5 separate regions of the Homo sapiens genome follow, and all the other regions are linked to region 1. The links are contacts of gene promoters, found by promoter capture Hi-C in blood cells and fetal thymus (Javierre and others, 2016). All regions are on one chromosome and are shown on one strand. The core of a region is centred on a gene start or on the middle of the fragment in contact, and the rest is flanking DNA. Distances in the headings are between cores, read along the strand shown.

Region 1 (3,046 bases), core at 294-2,793:
TAAACGAGTTACCTGCCTTCCATTGTCATGGAAGCAGGAAAAAACTACTACTTCCTTATGTTGGAAGAGAGTAAAGCACACCCCGCCCCCCAACCCCCGCCCAACACACAAAAGGAGTTGTACAGCAAAATAAACTAGATCTTGACTAAATCTGGGTAGATCAGGGATTCTCTGGAGGGGGTGCTTCCAGGCCTCAGCAAATTGTCCTATTGGTTTGAGCCATAAAGATAGCTCAAGCTGGTACTAAGGACTGACAGATTTGTCAAAGGTCAGTGGCACCTCTACTCAGAATCCCTTTGTGGTTACCAAAATGTGAACCTTGAATATCTGAGTCAGATCTCAGTCAACTTAGGAAGTTTATTTTGCTGAATTTAAGGATGCACGCCCATGACACGGCCGTCGGAGGCCCTGATGACATGTGCCCAAGGTGGTCAGAGCACAGTTTGGTTTTATACGTTTTAGGGAGACATGAGACATCAATCAATATATGTAAGATGAACATTGGTTTGGTCCGGAAGGGCGGGACAACTCAAAGCAAAGGCAGGAGGGAGCTTCCAGGTCATAGGTAAATATGAGACAAATCATTGCATTCCCTTGAGTTTCTGGTTAGCCTCTCCAGAGGTGGCAATCAGATACGCATTTATCTCAGTGAGCTGAGAGATGACTTTGAACAGAATGGGAGGCAGGTTTGCCCTAAGCAGTTCCCAACTTGACTTTTCCTTTTAAGCTTAATGATTTTGCGGCCCCCAAATTTATTTTCCTTCCACATTTTTTTTTTTAAATCAGACTTAAGGTCTGCCTTGATGTTAATGCTGGAGGAGTGTAAAAAGGCATGTCCAACTCTTACTTCCCTTCGAGGCCAGAATAGTCTCTCAGGTTGAACTTCAGGGTCCCCTGGTAAAGGAGGGAGTCCAGTCAGACGGCTGCGGGGGAGGGGGGGCTTCGAATTTTATGTTTTACAGGCATTAGCGCCACCCATTTCTCCTTAACCCCAAACTTCCTCTCCCCACAACAGAAACGTCATCATTCTGCTTCCACTTATCCAGAAGAAAGGCAGAGGGCGCACACTGCGCAGCGCGGATGGGAAAGTTAACTGAATTATTTGCGGGAAGACAGAGGAGGTGGGGGGTCCCCCAAGCCCCAGCCATTTTGTGGCTCGTAGGGGTTGTCGCTTCCCAAGCCGTGAATGGCCCAAACCCGCCCCCCGCCCCAGGTCGGACTCCTGCCCCGCGCCCCTCTGGGTCGGACCCCAAGCCGAGCCCCCCAACCCCGCGGCTGGGCTGGGCGATTGGGGACGAGCTCCACACATGGAGAACCTGGCCTCGCCTCGCAAGACCGCGGGACGCGCAGATGTGAAGTGCGCCTGCGCGGGGCGCAGCCCCAGCTGCAGACGATCTGTGAGCGACGCGCCGGCGCAAGTCGAGGGCGGTGGCTTGGCTTCCCTGGAATGGGGGACGTCTTAGGACTGCGCCTGCGCGGGGCGCCGGGCCCTGGGCGGGGCCTTCCCGGCTGACGGCCTGCGTGCACTGCGCTTGCGCGGGTTGAGGGCGGTGGCTCAGGCTCCTGGAAAGGACCGTCCACCCCTCCGCGCTGGCGGTGTGGACGCGGAACTCAGCGGAGAAACGCGATTGAGGTAGGTGTCCTGATGGGCAGCTCAGATGGCTGGACTGCACGTAAGGAAGGACAGGCCAGGTGAGGCGTCCTCGCACTGCGTGTGCGTCGCTGGCGGACAGAGGCCTCCGCCCCCTTTTGGGACCTCCGAGCGCCTTCGCGATCTCAGCCACTTTCCCTGGCGTCCAAACGGGAGCTCGGTCCCCGTCACACCCTTCCCTGCGTGCCGCACCCCTTCCCGGCCACTCCCGCCGTCCAGCGCCTTCTACGGCCACGCCCACCCCACCACCATCTCTGTCACGCCCTTCGCGGCCACGCCCACCTGCCTGGCGGCCCCTGCCCCGAAGCTCGCGGCGCTGTCCCAGCCTGACCCTCTCGTGCCCCTGCGTCCACGCGTGGCCCTCTCGCTTCCTGCCCCCTTCTCACCCCCCTTCACTGGCCACCTGTTCCAACCCTCCATGATCCTGTTCCTCCCGAGGGCATCTTAGGAGGGCAGGGTCCTGCGCGCACTGCGGCCTCCACTCCGACCCCGTCCCAGTTTGGACCCAGGTCTTCCAATGAAAATATAATTATGCAAATCAGTAAGCATTTGTAACTACGAATATCACAAAAATAAGCTTCAAGTCTGGATTTAGAAGTGAAGCATGCATTTTAAACAAAGAATTGCTATGCAATTTTAAAAACACATTGATCCCAGAGCAGTGTGTGGATTACACTATCACTGGAAAAATACGAATTGAGAAGAAGGAAAAGACTGGAAGATGCAGACCTTGGTTCCTGTTAGTGGAAACACTGTAAGGTCCCAGGTAGGGACTTTTAATTGGAATTAAAGCTATCACACTTCTAAGAAATTAATGAATACTGATTTATTGCCTTAAGTCGACACCTGATCTAACAGAAACTAACAGGCTTCAGCAAATGAACAAGATTAACACCTTGCAGACTAGTGAAGAAAACACACTATTTGAAGTTTATGATTTTTAAATGCTTTTGTCTCTGTAAAGTATTGTAAATTTTCATTTCTACACTAATCTTCACACATACACATTTTACTTCTATTTGGTAGAGGACATCATGCACATTAGAAGTTAAGTGAACTCAATTATTAAGCAATGTAACAAGTACTTTGTGTCTCCTTCTCTTTTTAAAAGTAGAAATGGAAAAGAAAATGAAATAAATCAGCAGTTATGAGGCAGAGCCTAAGAGAACTATGGCAACATCAGGTGACTGTCCCAGAAGTGAATCGCAGGTAATTTCCGTTCCACTTCCTAAAAATCTGTGTTTAATGAATGTGAGCATTACAGAGAGCTAAGCGTCAGCTCACAGATGTGATGGAGCTTGGCTTGTGCCTTGGAAGGTGGCCACCGGCAGTAGAATGCTTAAATGTGAAGATTGTGAGGCAGAGGAAACGCAGTGCCTGTAAGGTGACATCCTG
Region 2 (3,046 bases), core at 252-2,751, 450 kb before region 1:
CCTAGTGATGAGGTGCCCAGCACCCTGCCTGCCCCCGCGATGGCTCATGGCCCCGTTGAGGCAGTGAAGCTGGAGGCCCGTGGCGTGCACAGGCAGCCACTCCCACATTATGACCAGGGCCCGAGAATGCCAAGGACATTAGGCAGCTACGGGATGTAGCGACTGTACTCCAAGAGGGGCGTCCAAGCCACTCCCCATTGAGCGGCCCAGCCAGGGTCGGGTGTCCACCCTGTGTGGTGTCCTCAAGCTGGGTGGGGACGCTGCCTTCACCCGAGTAACATGTGGGCTGCACTTCCCATAGGACCTGCCCAGGACACAGGGTTCCCAGTGCAGCTTCCTGTGGACCCTGGCACCCAGGGCAGCAACTGATGTGCAGGTGTTCATCAGGGTCCGTCCTTGGCACCCACACTTGAGGAGGGAGGGACTGGCAAGGGCAGTGGGAGGAGACCAGCATGTGGGGGAGACCAGCCTGGTGGGGAGACCAGCTTGTGGGGGAGACCAGTCTGCGGGGGAGACCAGCCTGGGGAGGAGACCAGCCTGCAGGGGAGACCAGCTTGCGGGGGAGACCAGCCTGCGGGGGAGACCAGCCTGGGCGGGGAGATCAGCCTGGGGGAGGAGACCAGCCTGGTGAGGAGACCAGCCTGGGGGAGGAGACCAGCCTTGTGGGGGAGACCAGCCTGCGGGGGAGACCAGCCTGGGCGGGGAGATCAGCCTGGGGGAGGAGACCAGCCTGGTGAGGAGACCAGCCTGGGGGAGGAGACCAGCTTGCGGGGGAGACCAGCCTGCGGGGGAGACCAGCCTGGGCGGGGAGATCAGCCTGGGGGAGGAGACCAGCCTGGTGAGGAGACCAGCCTGGGGGAGGAGACCAGCTTGCGGGGGAGACCAGCCTGCGGGGGAGACCAGCCTGGGCGGGGAGATCAGCCTGGGGGAGGAGACCAGCCTGGTGAGGAGACCAGCCTGGGGGAGGAGACCAGCCTTGTGGGGGAGACCAGCCTGGGGGAGGAGACCAGTCTTGCGGGGGAGACCAGCCTAGGGTGGGGAGACCAGCCTGAGGCAGCCCCACGATGGCCCCCACATGCTTTGGAGCACTGGGTGGCCCTGAGGGCTGGGCTGGAGGCCACCTACTGACCTCACTCCCTGATGAGAAGGGTCCAGCAGTGCATGTCCACCCCTCAGACCACGAGCGCCCGTGTCTAAGACACCAATTGTTCCTGACTGCACTGCTCCTGCCTGCACGTAACTGAGGACGCCCCCAACCCATGGCCACGGCCCCTCGGGCCGTCACACAGGGCTGCGGCTCATGGGGCCCTGCTAGAGCAGGCGTCTGTCCTCAGTCAGTGCGACCGACTTGAAACCCACCCTGACTCCCTGCTTCAATTACTTGGGAAAGTAAATCACCTCAGTGTTGTTTCTTGGCTCCGAGGGTCTTGTTTTATCAGCAGCCGGGATGCAACAGATGGGTCATCTCATCCTCATGGGAAGGGACGTACGGCAGAAAGCACAACCCAGTGGGCCGGCCACACCTCCAGCCCTGTGACGGGCACCCACCACCACCAACCCAGTGGGCCGGCCACACCTCCAGCCCTGTGACGGGCACCCACCACCACCAACCCAGTGGGCCGGCCACACCTCCAGCCCTGTGACGGGCACCCACCACCACCAACCCAGTGGGCCGGCCACACCTCCAGCCCTGTGACGGGCACCCACCACCACCAACCCAGTGGGCCGGCCACACCTCCAGCCCTGTGATGGGCACCCACCACCACCACCATCCCAGTGGGCCGGCCACACCTCCAGCCCTGTGACGGGCACTCAGGACCACCAAGGGCACTCAGGTGCAGATGCCCCTGGGAGAACACCACCTTCATTCAGCCCGGGCGGCCAGATTAGGGGAAGGTTGCTTCTAGGAGAGAAAGTCTTGAGTCAGGCTTTGTGGAGAAAGGAGGTTTCTACACCCCAAGCGTTCCTGACACAACCCAACCAGCCTGGTGTTGCACCACAGGGCTCACACCTCAGATCAAGACAACGGGGGCCCAGCCACAGCCCACTGACGAGGGCATGCAGGGCGTCCAGGATGCAGGGCAGAGAGAGAAGCGAGGGATGAGTCACGGATGCGCCCCCCGCTCTGAGCCCGACGGGGCCCTGAATGGCTTTTCCTGCCCTGGCTCCTCCCATCATATTTTAAATGCCGTCTTCCTCCCGCTCCAAGGAAACCTTCTCTTGACGTCAGGTACTCTCCAGCCACGGACCTATCAACATTCTGACAGTTTTCTGGTCTTGACACATTATCCTTTTAATATAGCGCTGGATTCAATTTATTAATATTTTAAGTATTTTTATGCTCACAGGGGAAGTCGATCTGAATCTCCTTTTCTTGTGATGTCTCGGTCTGGCTTTGGAACACTGGCCTTTTAAAATGAGCCGCAGAGATTCTGCGCCATTTTCTGGGTGTTCCTTCTTAAACGTCGGATAGAATTCATCTGTGAAGCTATCTAGAACTAGATTTCTTCTGGAAAAGTTTTAAATTTCTAAATCAATTTCTTAAATAGATACAACGCTACTTATATTTTATATTTTTCCCTCATGTGCGTTTTGCTGACAATTGTGGCTGTCAGGTAGTTTGTTGATAATAGGGGAGGCTGTGCATTTGTTGGGGCAGCGAGTGGGGAAATCTCTCTATCTTCCTCTCAATTTTGCTAAGAACCTAAAACTCCTCTTAAAAAAGTCTTGAAAAAGACAAAAGCACGAAGGAAACCAGAGAATATTTCAAGTTGAATGAGAATAAAAACATGACATTAGAATTTGTGGGGTGTAGTTAAAGCTTGATGCCCGTGCTCCACAACCACAGGAAATGGACAAACCCTACCAAAGTTATCAAAAGAGAAGGACACCCCATCTGTAGAAAACAGTCAGAAGATTAGGCAGATGTGGTGGTGCGTGTCTGTTGTCCCAGCTACTCGGAACACTGAGGTGGGAGGATTGCTTGAGCCTGGGAGGTCGAGGCTACAGTGAACTGTGGTTGCGCGGCTGTGCTCTAACTTGCGTG
Region 3 (3,046 bases), core at 547-3,046, 400 kb before region 1:
TATATTTGGGGTAATTTGTTCAATAGCAACAAAAAAACTAGAAAAAAGGACTACAAAGTGCCCAGCACAATAAATTGGGCAGGGGTTGGGGAGGGAATGGGGAGGCAACATATGAAGTAATGTCATTGAGAAATTTGAGAACACCAGGAATAGAGATGATCTCAAAAATTTCCAGCAACAAAAAAAGCAAAAACACAAAGGAACGATTTCCAATCTAAAATTCTATTCTCATTCAAATGATGAATCAAACGTAAGGATAGATAAGTCCAAAAAACAAAAAAAAACCATTTCTTTACTCTCACAACATCCTTTTGGCACCAGATGTAGAGAATTTCTCCCCACCGACAAGCAAGCATTCAGCTGTACAGCAGACACCAGCTGGGTATCCGCTTCAATCCTGCACCGTCTACCTGGAGATAGCAGCAGATCACACAAGTTGAGGACTCTGTGCCGCAAGACTGAGCCCCATGTCCAGTGTCAATCACAAGCCCCAGGTTGTTTTACCTGTCCTTCTGGGTTCCCAAGACCCCTTCCTTGGCTTTAATTTACAAGAGCAGTTCACAGAACTCAGGGAAACACATGTTTATTACAAGGCTATTTTAAAGGCTACAAATAGCCAGATGAAAAGATACACAGGATGAAGCCTAGAAGAGTCCCAAGAGCAGGAGCTTCTGTCTGCAAGGAGTTGCGAAGTGCCATTCTCTCAGCATGTGGACGTGTTCTTGTCCACCTTCCTGGAAGCCCCCACACATTTGGCTATCCACAAGCTCTCTGAACCCTGTCCTTTTGGGTTTTTAGGAGCCCTCATTACATAGGCATGATTGATTAAATCATTGGCCACTGGCGATCAACGTCACTTTCAGTCCCTCTCCCCCAACCTCTGGGAGTTTGGGGGGTGGGCTGAAAGTTTCAACCCCTCTAATCATGCCCTGGTCTTTCAGATGTCCAGTCCCTATCCTGAAGCTACATAGGAGCTGTCCGCCATCAGTCATCTTACTAGCATACAAAAAGACATCACTTTAGAGATCTCAAGGATTTTAGGAGTTGTATATCAGAAGGCAGAGACAAAGACCAGATATATATTTGATAATATTACAGTAGAAATAAAGACATTTTAGATATTCAAGCTCAGGAGGCTACTAAAGGACAGGCTCCATCAAGAAGAGAAAACCAAGCAAGAGGAAAATATGATTCAGAATCCAGGAAATGTCCAAGTTATGGCAAGAAGACAGGGGGTTCTCAGGAACATCTCGAAGAGAAAGTGGAGCATATTACCTGATGCACATGACTTTGTTGGGAAGAGCTTTACATTTAGGGCAGCGACTTTTGGGTAAAGTAGTGACAAGAGCATAGAAAACCAAGCAAATGAGAAAAACAATGTAATTAACTCCAGGAAAAATCAAAAGTTGTACCTAAAGGAAATGTAATCATAAACCAATAAAGGGCTCAACAGGAAATGGTAAACATACAGTTATACTAAACTGTGAATGCAGGTTTCAGCCAATATCAAACTGCTTAGGGAGACTAATAGGAGAGGAAATGTGGGTGTCGAGGGTGGGGGTGATAATATGTTGTGGGAAAGACAGTGTAAGAGAAGCTAACTCCTCTTCCATTGTAGGAAGTCAACAATGTCAAGTCAAGATTAAGAAATAGCATTATTTAAGTCTTTACATGAAGCTAATCACTAAAGATCCCTGAGTTGAGTAGTGTGTGTTTGGAGAAGCAGGGATTGATTTGGTGGAGGAAGAGGTTCTCTTCTTAGTGCTGTTGTTTTCTCAGTGAAATAAGGAGGACATGATCTAAGAATGTTGGAGGTTTGAAGAGAATGAGAAGACATGAAATAGAGTCTGGGGATGTAGGATTACAGTCAGGAGATGCTGAGTGCCAGTTTAAGATTGGTGGTCATACGCAACATCACCAAGTCTATTAATACCTCTTTCTGTATATGGCTCAAATTTTATCCCCTCTCTTCACACCAATTGCTAACAAACTCACGCTTATTCCCTTTGAATTTCACCTGGATGGCTGCAGCACCCACCTCTCAAGATTCCTGCCCTACATGCCATTCTTAAAAGAAAATGTGACCAGATCACTTCTCTGCCTAATCTTCAACAACGGGTTCTCACAGCTCTCAGAAGAAGGTGACAAGAATCTCTGACCTCACCCTGCTGGCCTGTTCCCCTCACCTGGCCACACAACCAAGCTGGTACCTCCACGCTTTCATCATGTCCTCTCAAGTACACTGTCTCCAGCTACACCCCTGCACTCCTCTCCGGGAATTCTGTTTCTCCTCTACCCAACCAGACCCTGTTCCATCCTCTGTTTTTTCCTTGCTACCAATTCAGGCCCACGCCTCATGCACATTCTCTGAGAATTATGTACATAAGTACCTGACTCTCCTGGATGTAAGCTGGGTGGGCTTAGCAGGCAGAGGCCCTGTGTCTTACTTTATCTCTGCATCACTGATGTCTGGCACATCAAGGACTGCAAGTTTGCTGAGAGAATGAATCGCCTTTTATACATGGAAATGTAAGCTCTAAACTGCCTCAGAGCATATGCTGGTGGGTGACAATCTGAGGAGGTCATGAATATAGGAGAATATTGAAGAGGTCACACAGGGGAAACAACTTTTCATTATGAAAAACTGGGAGACTGACATTTAAATGGTTTATCTGCATGATTAAATTAATCACATTTCCAACAGTGCATCAAGCATCTGAGAATAACATTATTTTGAGTAAAAACAGAAACTCTTCGGGAGAGACCCCCTCCCCACAGGTCAGGCTGCTCAAATGTCCACCATGTCTAGCAGCGCAGAGAGATGGAGCTCAGAGGCAACTTCCTCTTCCCTTGAACTCCGGATCAGCCTTTCCAGGTGCTTTAGTCGTTCGCCTAGACACGTTCCTGTCGCCTCTGACAGCTGCAGTTGCTCCCTCATCATGTCACTCTATTTGAATAAAAAAGAAACTGAACAGTTTTGGGATGTCAATAAACCACGACCTATCTCTGGGAAGGTACTAGATCTGGATCATGTTAGAAACCTCAT
Region 4 (3,046 bases), core at 141-2,640, 340 kb before region 1:
CAGCCACACAAGTTAGACTCTAGATTAAATTCCTCCCGCGGTTAGCCTGACCCGTGCCCGGGACTCAGTGGAGTCAGCCACACAAGTTAAACTCTAGATTAAATTCCTCCCGCGGTTAGCCTGACCTGTGCCCGGGACTCAGTGGAGTCAGCCACACAAGTTAAACTCTAGATTAAATTCCTCCCGCGGTTAGCCTGACCCGTGCCCGGGACTCAGTGGAGTCAGCCACGCAAGTTAGACTCTAGATTAAATTCCTCCCGCGGTTAGCCTGACCCGTGCCCGGGACTCAGTGGAGTCAGCCACGCAAGTTAAACTCTAGATTAAATTCCTCCCGCGGTTAGCCTGACCCGTGCCCGGGACTCAGTGGGGACAGCCACACAAGTTAAACTCTAGATTAAATTCCTCCCGCGGTTAGCCTGACCCGTGCCCGGGACTCAGTGGGGACAGCCACGCAAGTTAGACTCTAGATTAAATTCCTCCCGCGGTTAGCCTGACCCGTGCCCGGGACTCAGTGGAGTCAGCCACACAAGTTAAACTCTAGATTAAATTCCTCCCGCGGTTAGCCTGACCCGTGCCCGGGACTCAGTGGGGACAGCCACGCAAGTTAGACTCTAGATTAAATTCCTCCCGCGGTTAGCCTGACCCGTGCCCGGGACTCAGTGGAGTCAGCCACCCCAGACCTCTCTCACTGTTATCATTTTTGCACAGGTGGTTTCAGCAGCTTGATGCCAAAAAAAAAAAAAAAAAAGGAAAAGCATTCTGAAAAGCCATGTATGAGTGAATCATACTTAACTTGGCCTCCTTTGGCTGCACAGCCATGCCCTGAATCGCCCTTGTGGATCCAAGTGCATCTGTGTGGCTTGAGGCAGAGCTTCCCAGCCAGACCCAGTGTGAAAGGATGGGACGGCCACACAGGAACCTGGGCCCCAACTGCTCCCTCCAGACCTGGGTGGGACTTGCCCGCCATGCACACCCTGCTGGGGAAGAGGGAGTTTCTGAGAGTGACAGGAAGTGGCCCAGCCGGAGATTCAGCCCTGGGATCTCTGTGGCCAGCAACTGTGGGCGGGGGGGTATGTGGACATCTGCTTCCATTTTCCCCAAACCTAAGATTCTGTTCCCTGGTCTTCCCCTGGCATTTCTTCCTCGGGCCCAGAGCCCTCTCCTTGGGGCTCCCTATTACCCTGAGGGGAGGGCCAGCCCACCAGCCCAGGACCCCATCCTCATAGCCACAGGCCAGGCCAGCTCTGCTCAGGGCTGGCTCTCAGCTGCACTCTCCATCTACCCTGCCTTGTCCTCCATGTCTCCAGGCACCTCCCGCCAGCCCCAAGGATACCCACCTCCCAGACCTCCCTCTTCCCTCCACCCAAACCCCAGGGGAGTGCTACCCCTATGGCCCATGTGGCTCCATAAACCCCCTTGGTGCTGTGCCTGCTCAGGGTCCACAGGCCCTCCCTCCTCTTCCTCCTCCTCCTCCTCTTCCCCCAGCTCTGGGCTCCATCCGGGTGCCCCTCCCCTGTGGGCTTTAATCCAGCCCTCTCTCCAGGGGGACATGGCGACTGTGGGTCTTCCTGACTCACCAGCAGCTGCACCTCCCTCCGCCTCCGCCTTCATACCTCTCCCGCACTCCCTGTGCTGCCTGTGCCCCAAAGCTCTACCCAGAGTGTTCAGTAAAATCAGGGGCCACCGGAGGCCCCATCCTGACTGGGGGTTGGACCTGGGGTGTGGGCTGTGCGCTTGCCTCGTCCCTCTTAGGGCAGGGAGGCCACCCCTGGCCGGTGCCCCACTGCCCCACCACCCCGTGGCACCCACCCCTCCCCACTTCTTCATATTCCATCCCCCCTTGCCCATTGCTCCTGCGGCTGGGCAGTTCCATCCTGGGGGCCCCTCCCCAGCACAGTGCTGGCCCAGACAGCAATCCACGTTGACTAAAGACTCTCAAAGGGGCTTGCTTGCTTTCCATTTTAGATGGAAGGGAACTGAAGCTGAGTGCCTGTAATTCCTGCCCAGGGGTCTCACAGCAACCCTGGGGTCCTGCAGCCACATACCAAGAGCAGCCTGTGGCCCTGGGGTGGCCCTGAAGGGGCAGGTTCCTGTGGGGTCATCCTCTGAGCCGGTTTAAAATTATTCTGACAGGTGACGGCCACCCACGGACTCTGTCACTTGCTGGGATTCACACACGGCACGGAGGCAGAGTGGCAGCAGGTAAGGAGCCCATCCATCCCACTACCGAGGGGGTGCGTGGGGGAAGGAGGCTCCCCCAGGCCCCTGCCAGCCCCCACCCTCCATCTTGACCGCCCCCGCAGGAACTGGACCTCAGACCTGCCCTTGTAAAAATGACACAGATGTTTGCTTTCAACACCGGGCTCCCCAAATACTTCCAGCTGAATGTGTTCACTAAGGAAAGCGGTCTGAGTGCAGAGGCCGAGAGCCACAGCTGACACTAGCACGTGGCGCTTGGTCAAAAAGGTCCAATCAGCTAGAGACTAGGCCAGACCCAGGGCGGAGGCGGGAGCTCTGCGTGGAGTGAGTTCCGGGTTGGTTTCCTCCAGACCCATGCGCTCCGCCTACGGAGGCCCACGTGGGCTCCGGTCCACATGGTTAACACGCACGCAAGCCCGTGTTGGGAGCAAACTGCTTCTCTGAAAGTCATGAAAAACCTTTTTCATTAAAAAAAGAAAAAGTTTGGCCGGGCGCAGTGGCTCACGCCTGTAATCCCAGCACTTTGGGAGGCCGAGGCAGGCGGATCAACTGAGGTTGGGAGTTCGCGACCAGCCTGGCCAACATGGAGAAACCCTGTCTCTACTAAAAATACAAAATTAGCTGGGCCTGGTGGTGCATGCCTGTAATCCCAGCTACTCAGGAGGCTGAGGCAGGAGAATCGCTTGAACCCAGGAGGCGGAGGTTGTGGTTAGCCGAGAGATCGCGTCATTGCACTCCAGCCTGGGCAACAAGAGTGAAAGTCCGTCTCAAAAAGAAAAAGAAAAAGTTGGCCAGGCGCAGTGGCTCACGCCTGTAATCCCAGCACTTTGGGAGGCCGAGGAGGGTG
Region 5 (3,046 bases), core at 261-2,760, 310 kb before region 1:
TCACTTGAGTCCACGAGTTGGAGACCAGCCGGCACAACACAACAAGACCCCATCTCTATAAAAAATAATAAAAAAGGGCCAGGTGCGGTGGCTCATGCCTGTAATCCCAGCACTTAGGGAGGCTGAGGCAGGCAGATCACGAGGTCAGGAGGTCGAGACAACCTGGCCAACATGGTGAAACCCCGTCTCTACTAAAAATACAAAAAATTAGCCAGGCGTCGTGGTAGGCGCCTGTAATCCCAGCTACTCGGGAGGCTGAGGCAGGAGAATTGCTTGAAATCGGAAGGCAGAGTTTGCAGTGACCCAAGATTGCGCCACAGCACTCCAGCCTGGGCAACAAGAGCAAAACCTCCGTCTGGAAAAAAAATAAAAAAAATAAAAAAATAAATAAACAAGATAATAAAAGAACCTGGCTCTTGTCCACAGTCATTAACAGTGACAGTCTTGGGAGACATTTAAACAGCTCTGAGTGTGCACAGAACAAAAACCAGGTTAATTTAGTTAAGCAACTGTATAGAGCACCCTTGATATAAGTGACCTCATCTGAGAAAAGGACTCCATCTTATGTATTTTTTTTTGAGATGGAGTTTTGCTCGTTGCCCAGGCTGGAGTGCAGAGGTGGAGCCATCTCAGCTCACTGCAACCTCCGCCTCCCGGGTTCAAGTGATTCTCCTGCCTCAGCCTCCCGAGTAGCTGGGAGTACAGGTGCACGCCACCACGCCCAGTTAATCTTTGTATTTTTGGTAGAGATGGGGTTTCACCATGTTGGCCAGACTGGTCTCGAACTCCTGACCTCAAGTGATCTGCCGTCTTGGCCTCCCAAAGTGCTAGGATTAGAGGTGTGAGCCATAGCACCTGGCCCCTGATGCCTTTTAAATTATAAGATAGGGCCAGGCAGGCGGAAGTTGCAGTGAGCCAAGGTGGCACCACTACTGCACTCCATCCTGGGCAACAAGAGTGTAACTCCACCTCAAAAAAAAAAAAAAAAAAAAAAAAAGGGTATCAGGCCAACAGGGACCAGATGTTTCCTCATCAGTAGATACTGCACCCACCCAGATAAAGACATAAACAAGACACTCTTACTATCAGTCCTTACCAGAGTACTCTATGGCCATGAAAAGAGCAGAACACCACCAGGTCAAAGTGGCCGTTTTACAGACAGTCTTGCTGTCACTTGTGAGAAGCCCTCCACATCTGCTGCTGCAGGCTCTGCCCACATCAGAGATGCTTCCTTGCCAGATTCTCCTTTTCGTTGAACTGGTTAACTTTTTTTCCTCTCCTCTTTCTCTTGATGTGGAATGTTTATAACATTTATGCAGTGGTCAAGTATACTATTATGTATGGTTTGTAATACTGACTGACTTAAGGAGAGACTTGAGCCTGTGTGCCCACAGCTGTGACTGCCAAGTGAATGGGAAGCACTAAGAATTGCCTCCTCGGGATCTCTAGTAGTATACATAACATGCTCCAGAGGGCATGGATTTGTCAGACTTTTTTTTTAAATAGGGTTTTTAAGAACAGTTTTAGATTTAGAGTAATTGAGAAGATAGTACATGGAGATCCCACATACCACATGTGTGGCTTCCCCTCTTATTAACATCTTACCTTAGTGTGCTACATATGTTATATATATATATATTTTTTTTGAGACAGAGTCTCGCTGCGACGCCCAGGCTAGAGTGCAATGGTGCAATCTTGGCTCACTGCAACCTCTGCTTCCCAGTTTCAAGCGATTCTTCTGCCTCAGCCTCTCGAGTAGCTGGGACTACAGGTACGTGCCATCATGCCCAGCTAATTTTTGAGTGAAAGCCAGTGCACCTGGCCCATTTGTTATGATTAATGAACCAATATTGAGACACAAGTAACTGAAGTCCACACTTTGACAGTTTCCTTAGGTTTGCCTCATGTCCCTAATGTGGTATCCATCAGAACACCCCATTACATTGAGTTATGTGTCTTTAGGCTCCTTCTCAGACTTTCCTCGTTTTTGATGACCTTGACAGTTTCGAAGAGTACTGGGCAGATATTTTGAAGAATGTCCCTCAATTAAAATGTGTCTATTATCTCCTGGTTAGACTGGGACTGCAGGTTACAGAAAGGAAGCATCTAGGGGTGAAGTGCCACTGTCACCCCATCACATCAGGGACACACACTGTCACCTCGACTATAACTGTGAGGCTGACCTGCGTCACTTGGCTGAGGTGGAGTCTGCCAGTTTTCTCCACAATAAAGTGGCTCTTTCCCTCCTTTTCTTTATTGCACTCTTTGGGAGGAAGTGGCTATGTGTGGTCTACACTTAAGGAGAGGGGAGTTACGTTTCCCTCCTTGAGGGTGAGTATCTACAAAATTTATCTGGGCAGCTTTTTTTTTTTTTTTTTTTTGAGTTAGGGTCTCAGTCTGTCACCCAGGTTGGAGTGCAGTGGTTGCCTGGCCTTGACAGCTTTTTAATAGTTTAAAATGAATTGAGGCTGGGCGAGGTTGCTCATGCCTGTAACTCCAGCACTTTGAGAGGCCAAGGCAGGTGGATCACTTGAGCCCAGGAGTTCAAGACCAGCCTGGGCAACACAGTGAGACCCTGTGTCTACTAAAAATACAAAAATTAGCTGGGCATGGTGGTGTGCCTGTAATTCCAGCTGCTCAGGAGGCTGACATGGAGAATCACCTGAGCCCGGGGAAGTTGAGGCTGCAATGAGCGGTGGTCTCACCACTGCACTCTAGCCTGTGTGACAGACTGAGACCCTGCCTATAAAAAAGAAAAGAAAAAAGAACTGAAATAAGACCCAAGTCCAACATTAGCAGAACCTCTCTAGGATGTCCACAGAAACGACTCTGGGGTTCTGAGGAACACAGTCTAGGCAAACCTGGGCACATCCCCTCAGTCCCACAGTTGTAAATGTATTGTAACACGTAACAGTTGTGAGATTCAGGCGCGGTCTGGGTCTCTGTTCCTGGAAAGTGTGATCCTGTGGGTGCAGCCCCTGCTCGCTTGGCTGTGTTGCCTGCCTGGCCCCTGCTCTAATGAGCCCACTGCCCAGAGTTTGCTCAA

What was found. Contacts are between HindIII fragments. The CHiCAGO score rates a contact against its expected background, and 5 or more counts as called.
Region 2: a contact is called between the fragment with the promoter of SPATC1L here and the fragment with the promoter of PRMT2 in region 1, in 3 of 17 cell types (M2 macrophages, total CD8 T cells and total CD4 T cells). The highest score is 7.9, in M2 macrophages.
Region 3: a fragment that was not itself captured here is called in contact with the fragment with the promoter of PRMT2 in region 1 in 2 of 17 cell types (total CD8 T cells and total B cells); the score reaches 6.3 in total CD8 T cells.
Region 4: a contact is called between a fragment that was not itself captured here and the fragment with the promoter of PRMT2 in region 1, in 1 of 17 cell types (naive CD8 T cells). The highest score is 5.0, in naive CD8 T cells.
Region 5: a contact is called between a fragment that was not itself captured here and the fragment with the promoter of PRMT2 in region 1, in 2 of 17 cell types (monocytes and naive CD8 T cells). The highest score is 5.7, in monocytes.

The regions. Positions count from the first base shown.
Region 1 is chr21:46,634,131-46,637,176 of GRCh38, forward strand. It overlaps PRMT2 (protein arginine methyltransferase 2), which reads left to right and starts at 1,544. Exons shown (of 12, transcript NM_206962.4): 1 at 1,544-1,633; 2 at 2,309-2,417; 3 at 2,766-2,860. The coding sequence starts at 2,822. RefSeq lists an enhancer at 642-1,312 and silencers at 1,083-1,302, 1,413-1,962. The HindIII fragment of the contact is 1,501 bases long and covers 726-2,226 here.
Region 2 is chr21:46,182,958-46,186,003 of GRCh38, forward strand. SPATC1L (spermatogenesis and centriole associated 1 like) reads right to left here and starts at 1,502. Exons shown (of 5, transcript NM_001142854.2): 1 at 1,399-1,502; 2 at 1-817. It overlaps LOC124905045 (a long non-coding RNA gene), which reads left to right and starts at 1,590. Exons shown (of 2, transcript XR_007067914.1): 1 at 1,590-2,230. RefSeq lists enhancers at 1-167, 168-771. The HindIII fragment of the contact is 9,696 bases long and covers 1-2,819 here.
Region 3 is chr21:46,232,480-46,235,525 of GRCh38, forward strand. It overlaps MCM3AP (minichromosome maintenance complex component 3 associated protein), which reads right to left. Exons shown (of 28, transcript NM_003906.5): 28 at 2,654-2,947. The coding sequence ends at 2,789. The region is part of intron 2 of MCM3AP-AS1 (MCM3AP antisense RNA 1); the gene reads left to right. Among named protein-coding and RNA genes, the nearest start is that of MCM3AP-AS1, 4.8 kb to the left of the region's middle. The HindIII fragment of the contact is 7,035 bases long and covers 1-3,046 here.
Region 4 is chr21:46,294,029-46,297,074 of GRCh38, forward strand. YBEY (ybeY metalloendoribonuclease) reads left to right here. Exons shown (of 5, transcript NM_001314025.2): 4 at 2,134-2,202. Among named protein-coding and RNA genes, the nearest start is that of YBEY, 9.2 kb to the left of the region's middle. RefSeq lists a silencer at 807-1,101 and enhancers at 807-1,101, 1,347-1,920, 2,347-2,641. The HindIII fragment of the contact is 6,025 bases long and covers 1-3,046 here.
Region 5 is chr21:46,319,541-46,322,586 of GRCh38, forward strand. All of the region lies in intron 1 of C21orf58 (chromosome 21 open reading frame 58), which reads right to left. Among named protein-coding and RNA genes, the nearest start is that of C21orf58, 2.8 kb to the right of the region's middle. RefSeq lists a silencer at 1,605-1,867. The HindIII fragment of the contact is 4,449 bases long and covers 1-3,046 here.